Linked DNA regions of Homo sapiens: all the other regions are linked to region 1. The links are contacts of gene promoters, found by promoter capture Hi-C in human tissues and cell types (Jung and others, 2019). All regions are on one chromosome and are shown on one strand. Each heading gives the region's core, a stretch centred on a gene start or on the middle of the fragment in contact. The rest is flanking DNA. Distances are from core to core; before and after follow the strand shown. Region 1 holds the start of WTIP (WT1 interacting protein). Region 2 overlaps GARRE1 (granule associated Rac and RHOG effector 1). Region 3 overlaps ZNF302 (zinc finger protein 302).

Region 1 (3,907 bases), core at 585-3,084:
GGGCGAGGGCAGCCCCGTGTGACTGGCACGGTTCCCCTCTCCCGCAAAGTGGGCTTTTCTTCCCTCACACAGTCTCCCTCTCCAGCCGCTACCATCACCAAAGCCTGGGTCAGGCGGTATCCGGTGGTACCTGGGCCACTCCATCTCCCGGTTGCTGTCCACACCCATACCGTGGCGGGGCAGACGGGGAAGCACCCCTTTCTGCTCATCACGAAGCATGAAAGGATCAGATAGAATGAGAGCACCAAACGCAAAGAAGAAAAGATCAGGCCGGGCGCACTGGCTCAAGCCTGTAATCCTAGCACCTTGGGAGGCCGAGGAGGGCGGATCGCTTGAGCCCAGGAGTTTAAGACCAGCCTGGGCAACATAGGGAGACTCTGTCTCTACAAAAAAAAAAAAAAAAAAAAAGTAAGAAGAAGAAAAGCTGGGCATGGTGGTGTGCACCTGTAGTCCCAGCTTCTCGGGAGGCTGAGGCGAGAGGATCGCTTCAGCTTGAGAGGCGACGGCTACAGTAAGCCGAGGACGCGCCGCTGCACTCCAGTCTCGGCGACAGAGGAAGACCCTGTCTCAAAAAAAAAAAAAAAAGAAGAAAGAAAAAAAAAAAAGAAGAAAGAAGAAAAAATTATCAGAAAATGGCTCAGTGTGCCCATGAACCTGACTTGCCTGTTAAGTTAGGAACCGCACATCAACTCACTCGGCCAGAACCCCTCGTGTGTCGGGGGACCCAGAGGCAGGGGTGAAGCCGCTGCTGGGGATCCAGGCGCACTCACTCACCCTTTGCGCTCCCCAGTCCCCAGGGGATGCACCTTCCTCGTCCCAACCCCGTGCACTGCTGCACCCCCAGCCAGCCCCGTGCTCTCCTCCGCTGATCCGGCCGCCTACCCGAGGCAGTCTCGGAACCCCGGACCCCAGCCATGCGCGCAGGGAACTGCCGGGCCGAGCGAGCTCACCGAAGTAGTCCCGCGCCGTGCGCGCCTCGAGCGCCCGCTCCAGCTCCCGGGTGAGCGCCTCCAGCCGCCGCTCGGCCGCGCTTGGGCCGCCCTCCCGGCCAGGGGGCAGCGGGAGTGCAGGCAGCGGGAAGGGAGCCGGCCCCGCAGGCTCCGGGGAGCGAGCGGGCGCGGGGCAGGCGCCGGGCGGGAGGAAGTCAGCGTAGGCGCCGGCCGAGCCCCGGGAGCCGAGGCTGGAAACGCTGGAGCGGGCGCTGCCCACCGAAGGCGGCCCGGGACCGGGACGCGGGTCCGAGCGACCGGAGCGCGGGCTGCCGTGGCGCTGGTCGTAGCCCAGGCTGATGCCGCTGGATCGGGCGCTGCCGCCACCGCCGCCGCCGTCGGACCCCGCCAGGCTGGCCCGTGGGCTGCCCGCAGGCTGCGCGCTGAGCTCCGGAACCGCCGCGCGCCGGGGACCCCGCTCCCCGCGGCTCAGTCCGTCCGCCCCGGCCTCGGGGCCGCCGCTGCCCTTCCCTCTGCGGCCCAGCGCGGGCGCCGCCTCGTCTCCAGGCCCAGGCCGCGGCCCCCGCCGCCCCCGACCGGGAGAGCCGCACCCGGGCTCCAGCTCCCGCAGGGCCAGCCCGGCCAGGAGTAGGGCCGCCTCGTCCGCGCCCGCCCTGGAGCGCTGCATGGCCCGGCCCGCCGGCCCTGGCGCGTCACCTCCGCCTCCGCTTCCCGCCGCCGCTCCGGCCGGGCCGCCGCATCGTCCGCCCGAAGCCCGGAGCCCGCCCCGGGACCCCTGGGCGCGGGGCGGGGCGGGGCCGGCGCCGGGCCGGGGTCGTTCCGGCGGCCACGCGCGGGCCGGGGGACGCGGCGCCCTGCTCGGCGGCGCGCGCGGCGGAGGAATGTAAGCTCCCAGGCGCCGGGCCGCGCCCCCTCCTCGCCGCGGCCTCGCGCGGGGCGGAGGGACTCCTTTGCGGGGGCAGGAATGCGAGGAAGGAGACGGCGCTGCGGCCTCTGGAATGTGGGGGGAGTGGCGGCGGCCGCGCTGCGCCGGGACCTCGGAGGGGCGTGGAGGCCGGGCCAGGACGCAGGGGCGGGCGGCGGAGGCACCGCGGGGAGAGCCCAGGGTCTGCGGGGCGCCCGGGCCGTCGGGCCGCTGGGAAGAGCTCGGATTTCCGCAGGCTGAGCTGGAGGCAGCTGGCGCCATCCGGGCCGGAGAGATCCAAGCAGTCGACAGCTTTCCCCACATCCCGCCCCATCTCCCTTCCCTGCGCCGCCTTGCTCTCCGGCGCTGCAGGGCCGACCCAGCTCAGCTTGGAACCCACGGCGCTTCGCCCGTCCCGCGCCCAGGAATACTGTGCGCCTAGCGCAGATGCGTCCCCACGACCCCCTGCCTGGCCCGGGGCCATGTGGCCGCGCACCGGCCTCTGAAGCCCCCATCTGACTGCTGGGGAAGGCGCCCAGAACTAGGAGCGGGTTGGTTGGGGACTGGTCCTCGCGCTGGGTCGCTTCGCCCAGGCCCCCAAGGCCAGGCTAGAAGCAGGCCTCAGGCTCAGAGCCGGTGGGCGGCGAGCCTCCCCTGTGGCCATCACAGGCAGTCCCCGTGAAATATGGGGACTCCTCCCTTTTCCAGCACCTGCATCCAGGGTGGTGGGTGAGGCTTCGAGGGGAGGTCCTGGAACCAGCGGGGCCATAGGGGCCACATAGGTGGGGAATCGAGAGGTGACTAGGGCTTCGTGCCCAAGGACACAACTAAAATCCCTTGTACAAGTCACACGGCTATAGGGAAGAAAACCAAACCGTTATCTGTCAGGGCCTGATGGATCCAAGAAAAGTGTTGCGTGAGAGAGTACTGTTTTCCAGGCCCTCTCTGCTCAGAGATTTTCGGGAAGGCGCCTACAGTGGCTCAGCGCGCAGGGAGCCCGCACGGGAACTGTCCCGGCCAGACCGCCCAGGGCAGTGTGGCCTCAACACCACTGAGCACCCGCTGGGGCCGCTAACCCCAGCACCTTCCCATAGCCTGCGGAGTTCCAGCCCCTGCCCCACCAGGGTAGGGGAAGTGGAAGCAAGCATTTCGTGTGCGCGGAGGGTGGGGGAGTTGCGCTGTTTTGTTTTTTTCAGACAAGGTGTCGCTCTGTCCCCCAGGCTGGAGTACAGTGGTGTGATCACAGCTCACAGTGATCACACACACCCCAGAGTCTCAACCTCCTGGGCTCAAGCAATCCTCCCACCTCGGACTCCTGAGTACGTAGGAGTACAGGCGCACACCACCACACAAAACGCTGAGATTACAGGCATGAGACTCCGTGCGGGGTCTAGAAGCCAGCATTTGGGAGAGCAAATACCCAGGGAAGCCAGGACATGAAAAATGGTCTACCTTTCAAATGAGAAAGGAAAAGCCAGTTCAGTCATATCACATTTCATGGACTGCATTATCTACTATTTAAAAATTACAATATTGGCAGGACTGTGGTGAAACAGTTGCACATATGCTACTGGTATGAGTGCAAATTGGGATATCCTTTTGGGAAGAGCAGTTTGGCGGTGTCAACATCCGCACAAACGAACACGAAACTTAGAAGCAGTAATACTGCTGCTAAACATCTATTCAAGGGAAGTTATCAAAAATGCAGACAATAATCCAATCACAACCGTGTCGTATAATCCCAACATCATTTAGGTAATCTACAGCGGTCCCCAACCTTTTTGGCACCAGGGACTGGTTTTGTGGAAGACAATTTTTCCACAGACAGGGATGGGGAGGGTGGGAATGGCTTCAGGATGATTCAAGGGCATTATATTTATTGTGCACTTTATTTCTATTATTATTACATTGTAATATATAATGAAATAATTATACAACTCACTATACCATAGAAAGAGTGGGAGCCCTGTGCTTGTTTTCCTGCAACTAGACGGTCCCATCTGGGGGTGATGGGAGACAGTGACAGATCATCAGGCATTAGATTCTCATAAGG
Region 2 (4,367 bases), core at 717-3,216, 160 kb after region 1:
TGTTAGGTACGTGCTGAAGCACAAAGCTGCTCCTTACCTTCCTGGAGCTGAGAGCCTCAGGGCCAAAAAGGTGAACAAAGAAAACACAGAATTATAAATGGAGAAAAAACACTGCGGGAAACAAACAGAGGACTATACCAGGGAATGTCCTAGACACCCAGAAAGCAGCACTTAGGGTGAGAATTAGAGGAGAAGGTCGTGAATGGAATTGCATGTGTGTGGGGTGGGGTGGGGGGTGTCAAGACCTACAGACGGGTCCGTGAAACAGGCCGAGGATCCAAGGTAACAAAGAAAGACACATCCAAGGAACTAGAGCCCAGTGAGCGAGGGCAGGGTGGCCACTGATAAGGCTGGCCATCAAGGCAGGAGCCAGACTAGGCAGGTCTAGGCAGGTCGTGCTGAGGGGTCCACATGCTACCCTAAGGAAATGAGAAGCGACATCATCCAATTTTAAAATGAAGGCGAGCAAGACAGGGAGGGGAGAAGTAACGATTCCCTGAACAAGGGTAGCGATGAAGGACGTGGAAGAAGGGGACAGATCTGGGATAAGATTTTGGAGGTGGGAACTGCCGGGTTTTCTTAAGGATTGGACTGGGTGTAGACATGACGGAAATGCTGAAGGATAAATCTCAGGTTTCTCAAGTGAAGCCAGTGTGGGATGGCACCACTCACTAGCATAGAGAGGGTCTAGGGAGGAACAGGTGAGTGGAGAGAGGCTACGCCTGAGCCACCTGTGAGACCCCCGGTAGCAGCTGAGCTCAGGGGCCTGAAGCCCACAGGAAGTGGGCTGCTCACTGATCACACACATTTGAGCCCCCTCCAAGGACACAGGTGGTTTTTCAGTCCCAAGACTGGATGGAGAACCCCTAGGGAGAAGGGCAGCTAGAACTGAGCCTGGAGAAACTCACATTCAGAAATTGTGTTGAGGAAGGAGAAGCCAGTAAACTAGATGAAGAAAGGATGACCCAAGAGGAAAGAAAGGTTGGTTCTTGGATGTCACAAGCTGAGAGTATTTCCAAGGAGGAATATTCTCCACACTGCTGTGAGCTGCTGAAAGTTGTTGAAAGGGTTCCCTGGATTTGAAAACATGGAAGAAGGCACCAATGACCTTGATAAGAGAAGGCATGTTCTTGTATAGGAGTGGAAGCCAGATTTCAGCAAGCTGAATGACATTATGTATATAAAGTTTCAGACTGTGTAAAATAATACCTTATGTATAGATACATTCATATACGGAAAAAATATTAAAATATGCACAAGGATCACACGCTTCAAATTCAACAGAGGTTATCTCTAGAGACAAAGGGATGAATAAGAAAGTGGAGAGGTACAAAAGGGATTCAAGTGCATTTACAGACCGGGTGCAGGAGCCTAGGAGCTTGGGACCGGCCTGGGAACATAGCAAGACCCTGTCTTTAAAAAAATAAATAAAAAGTAAAATAAAATAAATAATTAGCCAAGCATGGTGGTGCATGCCTATAGTCTGAGCTACTCAGGAGGATTGCTTGAGCCGAGGAGGTCAAGATTGCAGTAAGCTGTGATCACTACCGCACTCCAGCCTGGGCAACAGAGCAAGACCCAGTCTCAAAAAAAAAAAAAAAAAAGTGCACTGGTGATATTTTTCTGTTAAAAATATGTAACAGGCATGAGCAAATATGGCAGGCAGCTAAAAGGAAGATACACTGATGGGTGTGAAATGTTCTATGTGCCTGAAATACTTCAATAATAATTACTTTTTAGACTACTCTGAGTAAACTGTCCACGGGGTGTGCCAGGAGCAGTAAGGAGCCACAAGGTGCAGTAAAAATAAAATAGTAATTTTTTAGAATGAATGAAAGGTGAAAAAAAGGTAGACAACTACTCCAAGAAGTTGGCTGAGAAAAGAGCAGAGAAACAGGGCAGGGCAGAGTGGACTTTTCTGTGGGAAGCATCTTTGTGTACTGGTGGGAACAGGCTGAGGATGAGGGAGAGAAAACACTAGGTCGCACCACAGAAGCTGGGCCCTCGAGGATGGGGGCAAGGCCAGCACGGGGCAAGCCTGGACAGGAGGAGAGGGCACCTCCTCTGCTGTCATGAGGCAGGGGAAGGAAGAAAAGATGGTTGTGAAGAGGGATGGCAGGAGTGGTGGTGGCTTGGCCACATGAGGAAGAAGGGCTGCCATCAGGGAGATTCTATTTGCTCAGTGTAGTAGGGGGTGGCATCACTGGCTGAAAGCAAAGGGAATGTAGAAAGGGCAGAAAGGCCTGGACAGACTAAAATGGTGGCAAAAAAGGTCAAGGTGAAGACGTCAAGAGAGAACTCGGAGGCCTCCTCCTGTGGGCTGGTCCTCAGCATGAGTTGTCTAGAAGATGGAGCAGGGGACCAAGGCAGGTGTTAGGTTCACGTGTGTGAGCTGAACAGTCAGGAGGCTGGGGCCCAGCAGCCAGGAGGACACCGAGGGTTGTAAAGTCACATGACAAGGCAACAAGGTGCAGGTCTGGACCTCAGGGCTTAGCCATCTACAATAAAGCTAACAGGTCCCACCCCCACACACAGCCTCCAATTAGCATTCCAGGGCCTTTCTGATGAACAGAAAGAAAGCCCTAGGAAGTCTTTAGCATGAAAGACAGACCAAAACATGCAAGAAAACAGTGAAAATTAAAAAGAAATGACAACAATGCAGCAAATGGCATGAAATTGAAATAATAAAACTAGAGACTGGACAATATTAACATGTGAAAAATCATGTTTTGAAAATTTTATTAAAGAAAATTTCCAAAACATAAAATGAAATACTAGGCCGGGCGCCGTGGCTCACGCCTGTAATCCCAGCACTTTGGGAGGCTGAGGCGGGCAGACCACGGGGTCAGGAGATCGAGACCATCCTGGCTAACACAGTGAAACCCTGTCTCTACTAAAAATACAAAAAATTAGCCAGGTGAGATGGCAGGCACCTGTAGTCCCAGCTACGCGGGAGGCTGAGGCAGGAGAATGGCGTGAACCCCGGGGGGCGGAGCCTGCAGTGAGCCAACATCGCACCACTGCACTCCAGCCTGGGCAACAGCGAGACTCCACCTCAAAAAAAAAAAAAAAAAAAAAAAAAAAGAAAAGAAATACTTTGCCAAGTTAATTATGGAATGATTTGAACTAGACATTATTTAATGAATCACTATATTGCTAACCATAAATTATCTTTTAATCTGTGTTTGCCTGCTGGGATAGTTTAAAAAAATTATCTTTTGGCCCAGGTGGGTGACTCACACCTGTAATCCCAGCACTTTGGGAGGCCGAGTCAGGTAGATCACCTGAGGTCAGGAGTTTGAGACCATCCTGGCCAACATGGCGAAACCCCATCTCTACTAAAAATACAAAAATTAGCTGGGCGTGGTGGCGGGTGCCTATAATCCCAGCTACTGAGGAGGCTGAGGCAGGAGAATTGCTTGAACCCGGGAGGCAGAGGGTACAGTGAGCCGAGATTGCGCCACTGCACTCCAGCCTGGGCGAAGGAGCAAGACTCCGTCTCAAAAAAAAGAAAATTATCTTTTACTCTGTAAAATGGAGCAGTAAGTCCTAAAGTCTCAACTTCTAAGATTTATTTTTTATTTCTCATACTGGAAAGAAATAAGTATTAAAATGCCTACAAGAAATGTCACTAATGGCCAGGCATGGTGGCTCACACCTGTAATCCCAGCATTTTGGAAGGACAAGGCAGGTGGATCACCTGAGGTCAGGAGTTCAAGACCAGTCAGGCCAACATGGTGAAACCTTATCTCTACTAAAAATACAAAAATTAGCCAGGCGTCGTGGTGCGCGCCTGTAATCCCAGCTACTCGGGAGGCTGAGGCAGGAGAATGGCTTGAATCTGGGAGGCAGAGGTTGCAGTAAGCCAAGATCACGCCATTATACTCCATCCTGGGCAACAAGAGCGAAACTCTGTCTCCCAAAAGAAATGTCACTGATTATAGGCAAAGTCTCCTTAAAACAGACTTTTTCAGAGCTGTTTTTGATTGCCTTTTATTTAAGCTTAAATTCTTCTGGCTGTGGAAAAGGAATAGAGAATGCCACACCAGAGTGACTAGGAAAGCAACCCTGCGCTAGGCTAGAATCCCCCCACCGGAGCGGCTCCCTGCAGCCCACCATTTAGTCATGAGGTTGTCACCACGAGAGGAGAATCCCACAATTCTCCTTCACATTATCCCTGATGACCATGCCATACCATCCCACACCACTGCGCTCTCTATCCACTAGGGAGCCAACCACTCAGTCTAGCTCTTGCATGATGGCTAGATTTTATAAACATATCTGCTGTGCTGGGAAATAGCTGATCTTCCAAGGGATAAAAGACTTCATGTTGGCCCAGTGCAGTGGCTCACGCCTGTAATCCCAGC
Region 3 (3,683 bases), core at 1-2,500, 200 kb before region 1:
CTCTGAGCAGAATCTAGGCATGCCCACTCTTCATGAGAGAAGTCTATAGCCACATCACTAAATGTCACCTGAAATAGCAAATATATTTAGGCTCAGCCATAGCCCAGGCCTCTTCTGTCACTGAAGAAGGGGTAAAATTAGCCTGCTTGTGGAAGAAATGGAACAAGATTCAGGAGCTGTGACAATGACTGGGAATGTGATGTCAGGTAAGTAATAATAGGACAGTTATGTAGTTGGAATTATACAATAAAGGGGACAGTTATGTGCTTAGAATTTTTATACAATAAGAATGAGAGACAAATATGAGAGCTTTGCTTCAGTAATTTTGTTAAAAGTTTAGAATTATATGAATTTTTAAAAATCAACATTTGACATTTGACAGCACAGAGTCAAGTATTTAGTTATATCTTTTATAGCTTACATGCTAGCTAAGTAATTAAAAATAAGGCTAAAGCAATTGTCTCTCAAATATGATACTCAGAAAGATTCACTAAATCTCACAAAAAATGGGTTCAGAAAAAAAAGACATCTTAATATTAAAGACTGATAGACATATGGTTTGATTATGTTCCCCAAAAAAGCATGTATTGAACTTAATCACCATTCTAATAGTATTGAGAGGTTAGATCTTTAGGAGACTATTGGGCCTTGAGGACTCTGCCCTCATGAATGGATTAATGTCATCATCAGGGAAGAGGGTTCCTTATTTAAAAAAATGAGTTCTGGCCCCCCTTTGCCTCTCTCTCGTCTCTTTGCCCATCCACCACAAAAGGACACAGCAAGAAGGCCCTTGCCAGATGCCTGCCTCTTGATCTTGGACTTCCCAGGCACCAAAACCATGAGAAGTCAATTTTCATTATTTATAAACTACTCAGTCTGGGGTATTTGTTACAGCAGCACAAATGGACTAAAACATACACATAACTGATTCATAAACAAAAAAGAAAAATATATTTGTGGTGTATACTTAAACTTCGTGCTGACAAACATTTAATAATTAAAATATGAGACTCCTGGGTGAAAAGACTGAAGGATGGTTTCATGTCATAGATCAGGGGTCTAACACCTGGGCCACGGACTGGTACTGGTCTGTGGCCTTTAGGAACCGGGCAACACAGCAGGAGGTGAGTGGCAGGAAAGAGCATTATCACCCGAGCTCCACCTGCTGTCAGATCAGCTATAGCATAGATTCTTACAGGAGCGCAATCCCTACTGTGAACTGCACATGCAAGGGATCGAAGTTGCACACTCCTTATGTCAATCTAATGCCTGATGATCTGAGGTAGAACGGTTTCATCCCCAAACCATCACCTCCACCACCTCCCACTTCCGTGGAAAAATTGTCTTCCACGAAACTGATCCCTGGTGTCAAAAAGGTTGAGGACTCCTGCCATAGACAGTCCTTAAATAGGACCTGGAAGGGGAAAAAAATAAGAGTAGATTTCAAAGAAAATATTCTAAGGAAATGCTCACAGATGTGCTTAGAAATTCTTCTCAATAGTACTCATTTCACAGTATTATTTAAAATAGTAAAACTTTAGAAGTTTAAATATTCAATAATAGCTTATTGGCTAGTCAAATTATAATATGTGCAAAAAGTACAGCCATTTAATACAGAGTTATTACTGTCTGTGATTTGTAAAACAGACTGCTCTACTGTGGTAATTTTTTAGCTCTGAGAGTTCATTCAGTATTGTATTACTTTATTTGGATATTTTGCATGCATGTTCACCAGTGACATGGATCTTTGGTTTTAAAGGCAGAATTTACTTTTCTCAGGTTTGGAGAAAATAATTAAAATTCGAATCGCCTTCCAATGGCAGAAAATCCTCTCCACAAATGTAGAAAAAAAAAGAAAGCAGTTTTATTACTGAATAAGCTAAATCAGACCTTGATGCACTTCACAAGCGATCCACTATTGAGATGAAAAGGACAGGAAGAAATCTCATCTTTTTATATAGGCAAGCAGATACAATCCAACACACATTTTCCAAATAAACAATAACTTATCCTCAAGTAAGATTTGACAGTTCAATTTGCTACACAAAATTTCTTCTAAATTCACCTGTTAATTGGAGTTGCCACTGTGTTAATTGCCTATATCCCAAATAAAAATAACATTTCTCATATCTTTGACAAACCAGTCATTACAACTTAGAGCCAGGGATGCTTCTTTCTTCCCCTTCAGTTGCCTGGGCAGCTTGAGATGTTCACTCATCTCAGTTCCCAAAAGAACATAGGATATCTATCCTAGCACTTATTTAAATTTCCCATGCTTTCTTACTTTTCTACCAGTGCCACAATCTTCAATACAGGAGCCACTAGCCAACTTGGCTACAACATTTAAATTAATTAAAATGTAAAAATAAAATAATTAAATAAAATTTAAAATTTATTTTCTCCATTGCTTAAGCCACAGTTCAAGTACTCAATAGTCAGATGGGGCTGTTGGCTACCGTACTGATCAGTACACATGCACAGCACTTCCACCACTGCAGAAAGTTCTCTTAGACAATACTGCACTAGATCATGAAGTCCTGTGTGTCAGTGTACACCAAAATCCATGTACAACTCTTCCTAACAGGTACTTCATAAGTGTTTAGAAGATGAACCAATGAATGGTTTTGGCATTAGTTCACTTTAGCCTTTACTTTGTTTTTTCTTTCAAGAGGCAGGTTCTTGCTCTGTCACCAAGCTGGAGTGCAGTGACATAATCATAGCTCACTACAGGCTTACACCAGAGGGCTCAAGAAATCTTCCTACCTCATCAGCCTCCCGAGTAACTGGGACAACAGGCATGCACTACCACACCAGTTTTTCAATTCTAATTATCTTAATTATTCCATGAAAACAGACTTCACCCAAGATGTACATCTGCTACTTACATCCCCTCCTGTGCAAGCTTCACCTTCCATGCCATGATTCTGCCCCACCAGTTCTTCATTACTCATCTTATTCACTCCACAATTACTTACTAAGCATCCATTTGGTGCCAGGTAACACTCTGGGTACTGACGCTATAACAGTCAACAAAGAAGAAAAAGCATTCCTCCCACCAGGAACAGACAATGAGCACGTGCATATACTGAACATACAGTACATCAGCTAGTGAGTGACACACACTGTGGAAAACAACAAAGCAGTGATGGAGGAGTGGAAGCGCTAGGGAAGGTGACTGCAATTGCAAATAGGCTTTCAGGGAAGCTGTTCTGAGAAAGTAACCACGGAACAAACACAGAAGGAGATAAGGATGCAAGCTTGTGCGTATGTGGGGGAAGAATATTCCACGTGGATGGCACAGCAACTGGTGACAGAGGCTGGAGCGCACAGGAATGAGGAGGCAGAGAAGGAAGGTGGGATCAGGGAGGTAATGGCCTAATTGTACAAATAGGTCATTGCAGAAGTGACTCAGTTAGAACCACTGAAAAATTTTAGGTTGCGGAATGACAGGAATTTATATAACAATAGGACCATGGTCACAGCTGTACTGAGAACAGACTGATGAGGGTTAAGGGCAGATGCTGGGAATCCAGCTAGGAGGCTACCGCAATAATCCAGGTGGCTCGGACTGGGGTGGTAGTGGTGGTGGTGGTGATGGGCTAACTAATGGTCAGATGCTGTATACGGTGTATCGTTTAGATCCAAACTAGAGGACCTGAATATGAGTTATAAGTCAAAAGGAA

What was found. Contacts are between HindIII fragments. The study calls those that stand out against the background at their distance.
Region 2: a contact is called between a fragment that was not itself captured here and the fragment with the promoter of WTIP in region 1, in 1 of the 25 tissues and cell types used here (pancreas).
Region 3: a contact is called between a fragment that was not itself captured here and the fragment with the promoter of WTIP in region 1, in 2 of the 25 tissues and cell types used here (mesenchymal stem cells and pancreas).

Annotation. Positions count from the first base shown.
Region 1 is chr19:34,479,685-34,483,591 of GRCh38, reverse strand. It overlaps WTIP (WT1 interacting protein), which reads right to left and starts at 1,834. Exons shown (of 8, transcript NM_001080436.2): 1 at 951-1,834. The coding sequence starts at 1,617. RefSeq lists enhancers at 796-1,450, 1,451-2,106, 2,107-2,761. The HindIII fragment of the contact is 21,139 bases long and covers 1-3,907 here.
Region 2 is chr19:34,321,741-34,326,107 of GRCh38, reverse strand. All of the region lies in intron 3 of GARRE1 (granule associated Rac and RHOG effector 1), which reads right to left. Among named protein-coding and RNA genes, the nearest start is that of GPI, 41 kb to the left of the region's middle. The HindIII fragment of the contact is 5,735 bases long and covers 1-4,367 here.
Region 3 is chr19:34,679,162-34,682,844 of GRCh38, reverse strand. ZNF302 (zinc finger protein 302) reads right to left here. Exons shown (of 5, transcript NM_001289187.2): 3 at 1-68. Among named protein-coding and RNA genes, the nearest start is that of ZNF302, 3.3 kb to the right of the region's middle. RefSeq lists an enhancer at 3,042-3,543. The HindIII fragment of the contact is 3,661 bases long and covers 1-3,080 here.